3 separate regions of the Homo sapiens genome follow, and all the other regions are linked to region 3. Evidence: promoter capture Hi-C in 16 types of primary human blood cells and fetal thymus (Javierre and others, 2016). All regions are on one chromosome and are shown on one strand. Each heading gives the region's core, a stretch centred on a gene start or on the middle of the fragment in contact. The rest is flanking DNA. Distances are from core to core; before and after follow the strand shown. Region 1 overlaps YWHAZ (tyrosine 3-monooxygenase/tryptophan 5-monooxygenase activation protein zeta). Region 2 overlaps LOC124901993. Region 3 holds the start of AZIN1 (antizyme inhibitor 1).

Region 1 (3,673 bases), core at 594-3,093, 1.9 Mb after region 3:
GCGATATGATGACATGGCAGCCTGCATGAAGTCTGTAACTGAGCAAGGAGCTGAATTATCCAATGAGGAGAGGAATCTTCTCTCAGTTGCTTATAAAAATGTTGTAGGAGCCCGTAGGTCATCTTGGAGGGTCGTCTCAAGTATTGAACAAAAGACGGAAGGTGCTGAGAAAAAACAGCAGATGGCTCGAGAATACAGAGAGAAAATTGAGACGGAGCTAAGAGATATCTGCAATGATGTACTGGTGAGAATCAATTCAGTCTGGCTTCATTATACTGTAGGGTCCCTATGAGTATCAGTTACATTACTCTTAACTTTTTGTTTGGTTTTTCTTTTCCTTCTAAACATTGTGTGTTCCAAATTTAAAAGTCTTCATGGTGTCATGACTAAAAAGATGTTAAGACAATTATAGATACGTGTATGTAAAATAATTGCAACAATGATTATGAAACAGTTCAGTTTTGTTAAAAATAACAGACTTTAGTATTGTATTTTATATTAATTGAAAATATAAACTAATTGTGTTACTGTTTTACTTATGGTTAGAATATTTGTAGTAGCTCTATAGCTGGTTATCTTAAATGTACATCTGTGGATAAAGGAATTTTACATACTTTAGGTAAGAGAGATGTAATAGGATACTCATTGTAGAAATAGTACTCTTCTCAGGATTAGCCGCTATAATGTTAATGTAATGAGTCAACCATGCAGAAAACTCTGGCGTCACAACTATGAAACCTCTTCCTGCATTGAATTCTTGAAGGTAAATTTTGAACACTCACAACCATGATGAAAGGTTATGAACAACTCAAGCTTGATTTTCCAGTTTGAATCGAGTATTTTAAGTATTCAGTACTTACTGTGTTGAAGCACTGCGCTTAAAAGAATTAAACTACATTTTGGTTAATTTTAATCTGTCATATAAAGTAGGGCTTTTTGATCAAGAATAGTTTAAATTTGAGGATAAACCAGTAGAGAATCCAACCAAGCTGGCAGTTTTTGGAATAATATTTAAAGTGGTTTTACTAAATGGTTACACTTAACCAGTATGGAAGGGCTCTGATATACAAAGAGGGGCAGCATCTCGATTTTTCTGGACAGATTACTGAATCTGGAACTCAGTATGGAAATCCAGGTTTGTTACTTACTATATGAACCTTGTTTATGGAAGAAGTGCTATAATGAGCAATAGGATAATGTCTGATGTGGTTGTGGGTTTGGGGTTTTTGTTAAAGTTGTGATGATACTATCATTTCTTTACATTTGTATTTACTAATGGAATAGCATCAGTTCCTAAACTGTAATTTTCTCAAATGATACTTACTTGACACTGTCTTTTTAAAGAATAGTGATTTTTTAAACATGCTTATTTGGGTTCACAGCCACAAACTCAATGAGGCATCTGTCTTGGGGCATTTTTTTGTTCTTTGCTTATTGAAACCTTTAGAATGATAGCTACTATTTGTATCTAAGTTGAAAAAAGGAATATCTTGCTTTTATTGGGGCCAAGTGACAAATGTCTGTTTTGTGATTTTGCTAAGGTAATAAGAATATTTAAATTTTGTTTTTTGTTTTTTTTTTTTTTTGAGACGGAGTCTTGCTCTGTTGCCCAGGCTGGAGTGCAGTGGCGCGATCTCGGCTCACTGCAAGCTCCGCCTCCCGGGTTCACGCCATTCTCCTGCCTCAGCCTCCCGAATAGCTGAGACTACAGGCGCCTGCCACTGCGCCCGGCTAATTTTTTTGTATTTTTAGTAGAGACGGGGTTTCACCATGTTAGCCAGGATGGTCTCGATCTCCTGACCTCGTGATCCGCCCTCCTCAGCCTCCCAAAGTGCTGGGATTACAGGCTTGAGCCACCGCGCCCGGCCAAATATTTAAATTTTGAAAATGTGATTTTTTTTTTCTATAATAAAAAATGTATTGGGTTTTTTTGTTTTTTTTGTTTTTTTTTTTTGCTCACCTTACTAACTAATATCTGTGTATGTGTAATTCAGTTTTGTTCAGTCTGGAGTGTTTTTCCCAATTATTACACCTGATCGAAAAGTTTTTATTTTGGCTTCAAAGGGTGTGTTACACATTAACATTTCCCTTAAGACAAAAGTCAATTTTAGGAATAAAAAGGAATGTAACATTTACCTTTTACTAACACGCTTATTTGCAATACCAGGTAGGTATGTGCATGTTTTCCATATACAAAGTATAAAAGTTCCTGTCATTGTGAGTCTTTTCCAAGGAAAAGACTTGTAGCAGGTTTGTTTTTTGTGTATGTTTGTTTGTTTGTTTGTTTTGAGACTGAGTTTTGCTCTTGTCACCCAGGCTGGAGTGCAATGGCACCATCTCAGCTCACTGCAACTTCCGCCTCCCGTGTTCAAGCAATTCTTCTGCCTTGACCTCCCGAGTAGCTGGGATTACTGGGCGTGCACCAGCACGCCCAGCTAATTTTTGTACTTTTAGTAAAGATGGGGTTTCACCTTGTCGGCCAGGCTGGTGACCAGGTCACGTCTAACTCTTGACCTCAGGTGATCCACTCGCCTTGGCCTCCCAAAGTGCTGGGATTACAGGAGTGAGCCACCACGTCCAGCCCAACTTGTAGCAGTTTTGACTATGCTTCCCTTTAGTTTCCTTATGAAGAAACTTTGTTTGCATAGAACCAGTAGATGAGGATAACAAGATAATCTCTTCATATAAATAGTTTCTTCTTGTTATGATTATTAAGGAAGTTCACTCTGGTCCCTACCCACATCGTTACCCTCCAGAATAGCACTGGCTTCCCAAAAAGTTTTAATGGTATTTACACTTTGAAAGTTTGGATAAATGAGAGTTTAATTTCTTTACTATACAAATGGCTTTGAAGAGAATTCTAAACAAGCTTTTGCTTCCAGCCTTGGTCTTTTCAGGAGTAAGACTTAGTGATCTTTGCATACTCAACGTGTAATAGATGCTCAAATATTTGTTAAACAAGCAGAAAGGCTTCTTTAGAGAAAGAGCATAGAATTAGGTCAGCAGCACTGCAAAATTTCCCTAGCTTTTTCTTTTTCTGCTTGGGAAAATTTGATATTTACCGATAATAGGCTTCTTTTTCCTACCATCTTTTTCAAATAGGTCACATCGACTCTGGAAACATATTGCATAAAATTCCTTCTGCCCTTTCTGTGAGATGGAAGAATAAAATGTAGCAGAACTGATATTTCTACTAGAAAAAGTTATTGAATCATTATTAATGATTAGTAAAAATATTTTAAATTATATTTTTAAGATCTTACATGATAAAAAATCAATTATAATTTTTTATTACTCCAGCCTTTTCTGGGCTTTGATATATATATTTTTTAATTTGAGAAAAATAAGCAGGTGTCCCTTTGCAGAAATAATAGTATTGGCTTGTGGCATTAGTGATAACCAGATTTTTTATATTGAGCACCTATTTTATAATAGCTATGAAAATAAACTTTCTTCCTACAAAAAGCAGCTAATCTCCAAAGTTCTGAGTTTTTCTGAAGAGCTCTTTAGTAACCCATTCTGGTTATATGTATTTATCTATTGTTTAACCATTTAATAAGCAAAGAGCTTGGACCATGTTGCATATTACAAGAGTAAATAGAGCATTATGGCGGGAAGTGGTCACTGGCATGCTCTTCACAATGTGGACTTTGCATTATGTAAAAGAACTTGG
Region 2 (3,503 bases), core at 478-2,977, 1.5 Mb after region 3:
TTCACTGACCCACAATGAACATGTAGCATGAATGAGAAATAAACTATTGTGTGTTTAACCATTGAGATTTTTGCAGCTGTTTATTATTGCAGCACAGTCTGGCCTATCCTGACTAATACCATAGGCTGGAATGCTCTTACACATTGATTGAGGAAGTATCAGGAATATAATGAGATTCTTGAGGGAAAAAGAAAACAAACAAACAAACCTTGGTTGATACTATAAACTATTATCCCATTACAATTTTATAAGTCAAGGATGTTATTCAAAATATTGAATAACCTGTATAGCATGAGTCCAACTAATCAGAACAGTCACAAAAACAAATCAGAAGAGATATCACCCAGTAGAGTATGCAGGGAGGTGTCAGCTGAAGATCCTTGGCATGTTGTCAGAGCAATATGAGCATTAAATATCTTGAATATGGAATAAGTGAATGAGCAATAAGGCTGATTATAAGCTGAGTTCATGGCCTCTGCATCTAAAATTTACTTAAAACAAAGAAGGTGGACTCCAGAGTCTGGAAGGTTAAATGGATGCATTTCCCTGGCTGTTCCTTCTGCTCCAACCTGAAAAAAAAATAAAGCAACTGAATCTCAGCATCTGTATCTGCTTATCTATTTTATGGCCAAATCATTTCTTATCTGTTAACATTTAGCCTGCTCGAAAATGTGGCCATTTATATGTCAACATATTTATTGATATGTTTTCAAGTGTACTTCTAATTGTTCAGAATGTCAAATTCTTTCTGGGAAGCTCAAATAATTGACATATTCCTGCCACTATGGATAATCAATAGTCTAGTGATGCCCTAAGTAACAAACTGAGAGACCGAGAAGACCTCCTGAACCATGAGAGAAAGATTCAAGAATGTTCTGGGTGGTTCTAAGGTTAAGTACACACTGCTGTGGGCTTACTTGGACACGGGCCATTGTTATATGATTGGAATATTTGTCCCCTCCAAAACTCATGTTGAAACTTGAACACAAATGTTTCAGGATTGAGAGGTGATTGGATCATGAGGGCTCTGCCCCAGTGAATGGATAAATCCATCATGGATTAATTGATTAAAGGGTTAATGGATTAATGAATTATCATGGGAGTGGAATGGATGGCTTTATAAGAAGAGGAAGAGAGCCTGGGCTAGTACACAAACGCACTCAGCCCACTTACCATGTGATGCCCTGCCTACCTCAGGATGCTTCAGAGTCCCCACCAGTAAGAAGGCCATCACCAGATGCAGGCCCTCGACCTTGGACTTCTCAGCCTCTGTAAGTGTAAGAAATAAATTTTTTTCTTTATAAATTACCCAGTTTCAGGTATTCTCTTATAAGCAACAGAAAACAGACTAATATAGTGATTACTAATGCCATTTTAGTAATTTTCATCTAGCCAGAAGAAACAATTCACAAAGAATCTCATATCTCAACCATTGAAAGAAATGGAAGTTTTCCATAGTGTGGCCAGTGAAAGCTTACATATTACAAGAGACTATGAACCTGGAAATAACTGAATGGCTGAAATTATGTGCAAAAATTCTGTCTTTGTACTTACATGCTTGGCATATTACACATGCATTTCTAGCTTTATACATGCCCCAAGAATATTTTTAGGAGATGAATAAACCCCAACTTGCAAAGACAATTTCCTTGCAAAGAAAGGACTTTGTCTGACTAATCCAAATGGCAAAATAAAAACAGGAGACAGAAAGATGAGTCTTTAAATCTTAAAAACACTTGAATTGTAGTTAAAAGAAAATCAAAGCCTCAGATGGTAGAGTGTTGATGCATTTAGATGAAAATTAAAATGAAGAATGAAGAAAGCACTAAGTAATCCTCTTCTGGTTGAGTCAAAGGATTTGCTTCCTGAAATTCAAGTGATGATAGAAGGAGGGAGTACATGGTCTAGTGTCTGAGCTTGGGGAGGAGTGTGGCAGGAATGTTGTCCTGACAGCAAGGTTGGAAGGGGAAAAGAAAGCTTGCTTGGCAAGCTTGGTCAAAGCTTGTTTGTTGGGAAATCAATGTAGGCAGGGAAGGAGAAATTTCTGGAACAGAGATTCCTTAACTTGGAGGAGCAACAGCTGCCTCCAAAGATCCAACTGTCCTTTCATTTATTTTAGAAGAGATAAAGAATGACATATATTAAAAACTAAAGAGACTTAGGGTTGAATGAGAAGATCTGCAGTCAGAAAATGCAGATACCAGAATTTTGTAGCTACTTGCAATTTATTTTATAGAAAGCTTTTAAATATTGGGAGCAGCTTATCTTTTTTTTCCAACATGGAGAAGATTAAATGGAGAGGATGGAACTGGAATTTTTTTGCAACTTCTATTTCTCTATTTCAAAGCTGCTAACAAGTCTGTCATAAACACCAGCTGGGCTGCAGCTGGAACAAATTCGGTCTATGGGTCATTCTCGTGAGTATTTGAGCAAGCAACCTTGCCATATGACTTTTCATAAGCATAAAATCTGGAATTGTAAAAGAAACTGAAATCAACATTTATGGAGTGGGTCTAAAGGGCAGGCCCTGCAGACCTGAAGTGTAGGTCACATGTTGCTGCAAAGATTCCTTCCTCTCTACTCCTGGCAACTGTCCCCACTCCTACTCCCATGCCCTATCCTTGCTCTTTTCTCCTGGTCTCTCAAGGTCTCATCCTTCTCTCACTATCTGCCACAGATGTCCAAAGGGACTGAGAAAACTCCACTATTATGAAGAATGAGAGAAGGGAGATTGAGGAATAACTAGCCATCTGCCAATCACATCATGCTCTTGTTAAGTGTCTTGGCATCAGAGAAGGTACTTCATTCTAAATCACTTTTGCATTCCCAGAACCTAGTCTAGTGCTTGGCGCATAGTAGGTGCTTAGTAAATGCCTGCCAAATAAATTACTATCATGTAAGAGAATTGCAGAGCACAGATTTTTAGTGTAAACTTTGTGAGGATAAAAATAAAATGCCTTTTAAATAAGTAAAGCATTGAAGATACTCATTATTTGTATCCTAATCTAGTACTCAAAATGCAGATGACTTCTTATTTCTTTAAAAGAGGGGAAAGCTTTACATTAAAACAACAGACAAGAGGCAGAAAATGAAAAGACTAATAGGCCTAAAGTTAGGCGTAATCCCACCTTCTTGAGTTTTAATTTCAGTCTCCTTACTTACCCAAGAAGGCATCTGTCATCCCTGAAGCCTTAGAAGGAAGTTTATCCTTCCTTAGAACCAGAAAATAATGGGTACAATTGTCTGCTGGTCCCAGGGAAAGGGTGGCACTAATAGGGGAAAGGAGAGAGGGGTGATAAGGTTAATCTTAGACTAGTAATTTTCAGGAACATGGCATCAAAGAAAACACCATTGGTTTCCTAACAAAGAGCTTAAGTCACCTTTAAAGCAATAGTGCAACACCAACATGGAATTCAGTCTCCTCCCAGGAGGTTTTGTAGCTTCCACTAAAAGCAGGTCTTGGAAAGGCTCCCTCCAGAGTTCTGCCAAGCTCTCTCCCTCTG
Region 3 (3,698 bases), core at 1,047-3,546:
GCCCGGCCCCCTTAGTACTAAAATAAATAAATAAGTAAACCAAAAGACCCCAGAAAACTGCTGTAAGAGTTTCCTTCACTTCCAAACTTTCTACCTCTTTTCAATCCCACCCACTGGTGCTGGAGTAATCTTTTAAAAAACATATTTTTGAGCATATCATGTTCCTGTTTATATGGTTCCAGAATAAAGTCCAAGTTCCAATTTTTTGTTTTGTTTTTTTTTTTTTTTTTGAGACGCAGTTTCACTCTTGTTGCCCAGACTGGAGAGTGCAATGGTGTGATCTCGGCTCACTGCAACTTCCGCCTCCCAGGTTCTAGAGATTCTCCTGCCTCAGCTTCCTGAGTAGCTGGATTACAGCCATGTGCCACCATGCCCAGCTAATTTTGTAGTTTTAGTAGAGCCGGGTTTTCTCCATGTTGGTCAGGCTGGTCTCGAATTCCCGACCTCAGGTAATCCGCCCTCCTCGGCCTCCCAAAGTGCTGGGAATACAGGTGTAAGCCACTGCGCCCAGCCTCCAATGTCTTCTTGATGTCACCCTAATCTACCGTTTCAATCTCATTTGCAACCATGCCCCTATGCTGGAACCAGAAAGGCTATTCACAATTCTCTAAACCCACCCACTTCTGTGCCTTCTCTCATCCGTTTCCCTTGCCTGGAACACTGGAACATCTACTCTCAAAATCACCAAACAGGCGAGTTTGGTGAAAAAGGAAGCACCTTTGTCTAGAAAGGCTTTTCTCAAAATCACTCTTTACCTTTCCCCAGCAGCCTTTCTCTCACTTAGCTGCAATCATCTCTTCCCTCCACTTGGTCCTTGCAGCATTTTATTTGTATCAGCCAACAATTTATTTTGTATTGCTGTCTTATTTCCCCTGCTAGATTGTAAGCAAGGTTTCAAATATTGTATTCATCTCTAGTTTTTCTTCCTCCACCAGAGAGGGTCTAGTGAATGGCTGTGTTTTCAAATGTTCTGAATAGAACAGAACTTTGAAGAAATAAAAGACAGAGCCAAGATATAGCCGAGCAAAATAAGGAAAAACAAAATCAGGAATGCGTCCACAGCTCCTGATTCTACCGAATACTCTCTCATACAGCCTCGCAAGATACCCTGCTTTTCCACACAGGAAGGTCGCTTTCTTCCTTTCACATTTGATGATTTATTAATCAACCACAGTGCTGCTCAAAGTACACAGAGGGTTCGGAAGAATGAAAGGGAAAAAAGTCAGGGTCTTAATATCAAAGATCTTAACTTCAGAGGGGTGTGTCAACACATATTCCATTTGTGCTATGTGTTGCGAAGCGTAGCAGCACGAGAGAACTCGGGGTCTCTGATCATGATCATTAGTGCTGAGGCATCTAAAAAAGATGAAAATAAATTAAAAGCTATGTAGGTAATCTTAGAACCCCTAGTAAAAAAAAGTCTGTTGTGGAGTAGAAAAATTAAAACGACCGCGAAAATGAGACCTAGGGGATTGAAGTAATGTGCGCTTGTAACATCAGTAATCCCCTCTCCAACGCGGGTCCTGCTTGGGACTGACTCCACCAATCCTTTTAAAAATGAAGACATAAAAGCCATATTCCTTTAAAAAATTTCCACTGCACCGTATTGCAACGTTCGAGCACTGAGGACATTTTCACGTGGTCACAACCCTTTTTAACACCCGGACACTGGGCCGGTCCTTTCTGGCCACGAGGAACTCGCTTCCCTAAAGGAGTACCGCATCACCGAGGGCGGGCGCCTCAGCCCGGGAGGACACTCCCCAGGGTAAACTACAGGCCTCACAAAGCGGAGGGAGCTGGACGCGAAGGCTCGGCAGCGGCGCCGACAGGCTTACCCCAGGCCCACTCTAGGCCGCACAGGGTTCGCGCCACCTCCGGCCCAGGACAGCTCTCAGACGCTGCCAGCGTGGAGCTCGACCCGGCTCACAATGCGCTGGGCCCCGCAGCGTGAGCGCAGGCGCCCGAGAGGCGGCGGGGGTCGGGCGGACGGCGCGCTCCAGCCGAGCCGCCTCCCTCTCTCGGCCCACACCCGCGCGGCCGCCCTTCGCCTGCCGGGGAGCTGCGGGTGGCTGGAGGGCGGGAAGCGACCGGCCAGTCTGCACCTGCATGACCCGGTCGCGCGCCGACCCCTCCCCTCTCTCTCCCGGGCTCAGTCCTCCTTCCTCTTCCGTCCCCCTCCCTTTTCTCCGGGCTGCAACCGGGTTCCGCCCCGCTCGCGCGGCTGCCCGGCCAGCTGTGATGTCACCAGGCCACGCCCCCTAATATAAATACTGGCGTCGCTGGCGCCGCCTTCTCACACTTTCAGGCTCTGATCGCGGCCGCAGTTTTTCCTTTTTTCTTCTGCCGTCGCCTTCTCTGCCTCTTCTCATCCTTTCTCGCTCTGCTGCTCTGCAGTGTGACGAGTCCGAATCCTCTTCCCACCCAGCCCGCGCCTTTCTTCTTTTGCCTGCGCTGTTCTATTTCTCCTTCGGCCGCCGCCGCCACTGCTGCACACAGCTGGTGTCGGTGCCGCGCTTTTACCCCCAAGTCGTTCCCGCAGCCTATGGCCCAGGCCGCCTTGGGTATTTCTGCTCAAGGTAACCACATCCCTCTTTAAAAATTCCGCCGAAAAAGAGAAGACGCTTTACCCGACTCTTTGGGCCGTTATCTCACGTGAGTACCGAGCCGAGGAGCGCGGGAGGGGCCAGGACGCGGGGCTGGCCTTGGGGGGCGGCTGGGGGGCTCCGGCTGGGCCCCGCCGCCCTTAAGACGTCCCCGCAGCGCCCCGCGGCCGGCCGCCTCGAACATGGCGGCGGCGGCTGTCTGTGCCCCCGGCGGCGGCGGCGGCGGCGGGGCTGGGCGGCGGGCCGCGCCTCAGGACCTTCGGGCGGCTGCTGGACGCTTGGCGGAGCCGGAGCCGCAGCAGTTGGGGCGAGGGGGCGTGTGCCAGTGGGGGAGCGCGCGGGGGTCTCGCCGCCGGGGGTCGCCGTCCCCTCCTGGCGGCGTGCGGCCCCCACCCCTCTCCCGTGGTGCATTGCTGTTTCCGGGGAGGGGGCCCGGCCGCAGCCCTGAGGGGCCGGGGTCCCGCAGCCCCTACTCCGCGGTGCGCCGCCGCCACCTTTGCCTCCCGAAGCCCGGCGGGCGGGCGGCGCTGTGGGCTGCAACGGCTGGGGTCCTGGTTATGAATGGAGCGGGGCGGGCCCCGCGCCGGCCTCTGGTGACAGCTGCGGAGGAAGTCGGATTCCTGGGGGGCGCGGGGAGCGCGGTCCCCCTCTGGTGGAGGAAAGTTGACGCCACTTGGGGCCTGGCGGCGGGGAAGCCCCGGTGTCAGGTAGCCAGCGAGAGGCTTTTGGCCCCTTCTGGAAGCCTCGAGGCTGCTGCTCCGCCCCTGCGGCGCTCCTGATTGGGTCAAGTCGCCTTCACTCACCCCAGTCACCTCCTGGAGCCTGAGGATTAGTCACCATGGCTTCGTTTTTCCGTCCGCGCCATGGTTCCTAGGCAGAAAGAGGGAGATTGGTAGACGGGTGGCTTATCAACTACTGTCTTGACTGCCAACAGTTGGTGGTGGTAACATGTTCTAACCCTTACACGGTATCCTGAATGTGTGTTTCGTAGACAAAGCTGCTGGTTCAGAAACCCGAAACAGTCGGGGACACAGTTTACCGCCTCATGTTTCAGCACATTTAACTGAATTTTGTGGTGGCATCTTGGTTATATTA

The links. The method cuts DNA at HindIII sites, captures the fragments that hold promoters and counts their contacts. A CHiCAGO score of 5 or more calls a contact.
Region 1: a contact is called between a fragment that was not itself captured here and the fragment with the promoter of AZIN1 in region 3, in 4 of 17 cell types (fetal thymus, neutrophils, activated CD4 T cells and 1 more). The highest score is 10.5, in fetal thymus.
Region 2: a contact is called between a fragment that was not itself captured here and the fragment with the promoter of AZIN1 in region 3, in 6 of 17 cell types (total CD4 T cells, naive B cells, naive CD4 T cells and 3 more). The highest score is 8.3, in total CD4 T cells.

The regions. Positions count from the first base shown.
Region 1 is chr8:100,945,167-100,948,839 of GRCh38, reverse strand. YWHAZ (tyrosine 3-monooxygenase/tryptophan 5-monooxygenase activation protein zeta) reads left to right here. Exons shown (of 6, transcript NM_145690.3): 2 at 1-244. Among named protein-coding and RNA genes, the nearest start is that of YWHAZ, 5.0 kb to the left of the region's middle. The HindIII fragment of the contact is 2,056 bases long and covers 816-2,871 here.
Region 2 is chr8:101,317,821-101,321,323 of GRCh38, reverse strand. It overlaps LOC124901993, which reads right to left. Exons shown (of 6, transcript XM_047422526.1): 4 at 3,163-3,269; 5 at 1,174-1,269; 6 at 62-569. The coding sequence ends at 529. Among named protein-coding and RNA genes, the nearest start is that of LINC02844, 57 kb to the right of the region's middle. The HindIII fragment of the contact is 504 bases long and covers 1,476-1,979 here.
Region 3 is chr8:102,862,761-102,866,458 of GRCh38, reverse strand. It overlaps AZIN1 (antizyme inhibitor 1), which reads left to right and starts at 2,296. Exons shown (of 12, transcript NM_148174.4): 1 at 2,296-2,652. It overlaps MAILR (macrophage interferon regulatory lncRNA), which reads right to left and starts at 2,188. Exons shown (of 3, transcript NR_126339.1): 1 at 1,836-2,188. RefSeq lists enhancers at 1,218-1,950, 3,419-3,698 and silencers at 1,830-2,179, 2,840-3,069. The HindIII fragment of the contact is 10,250 bases long and covers 1-3,698 here.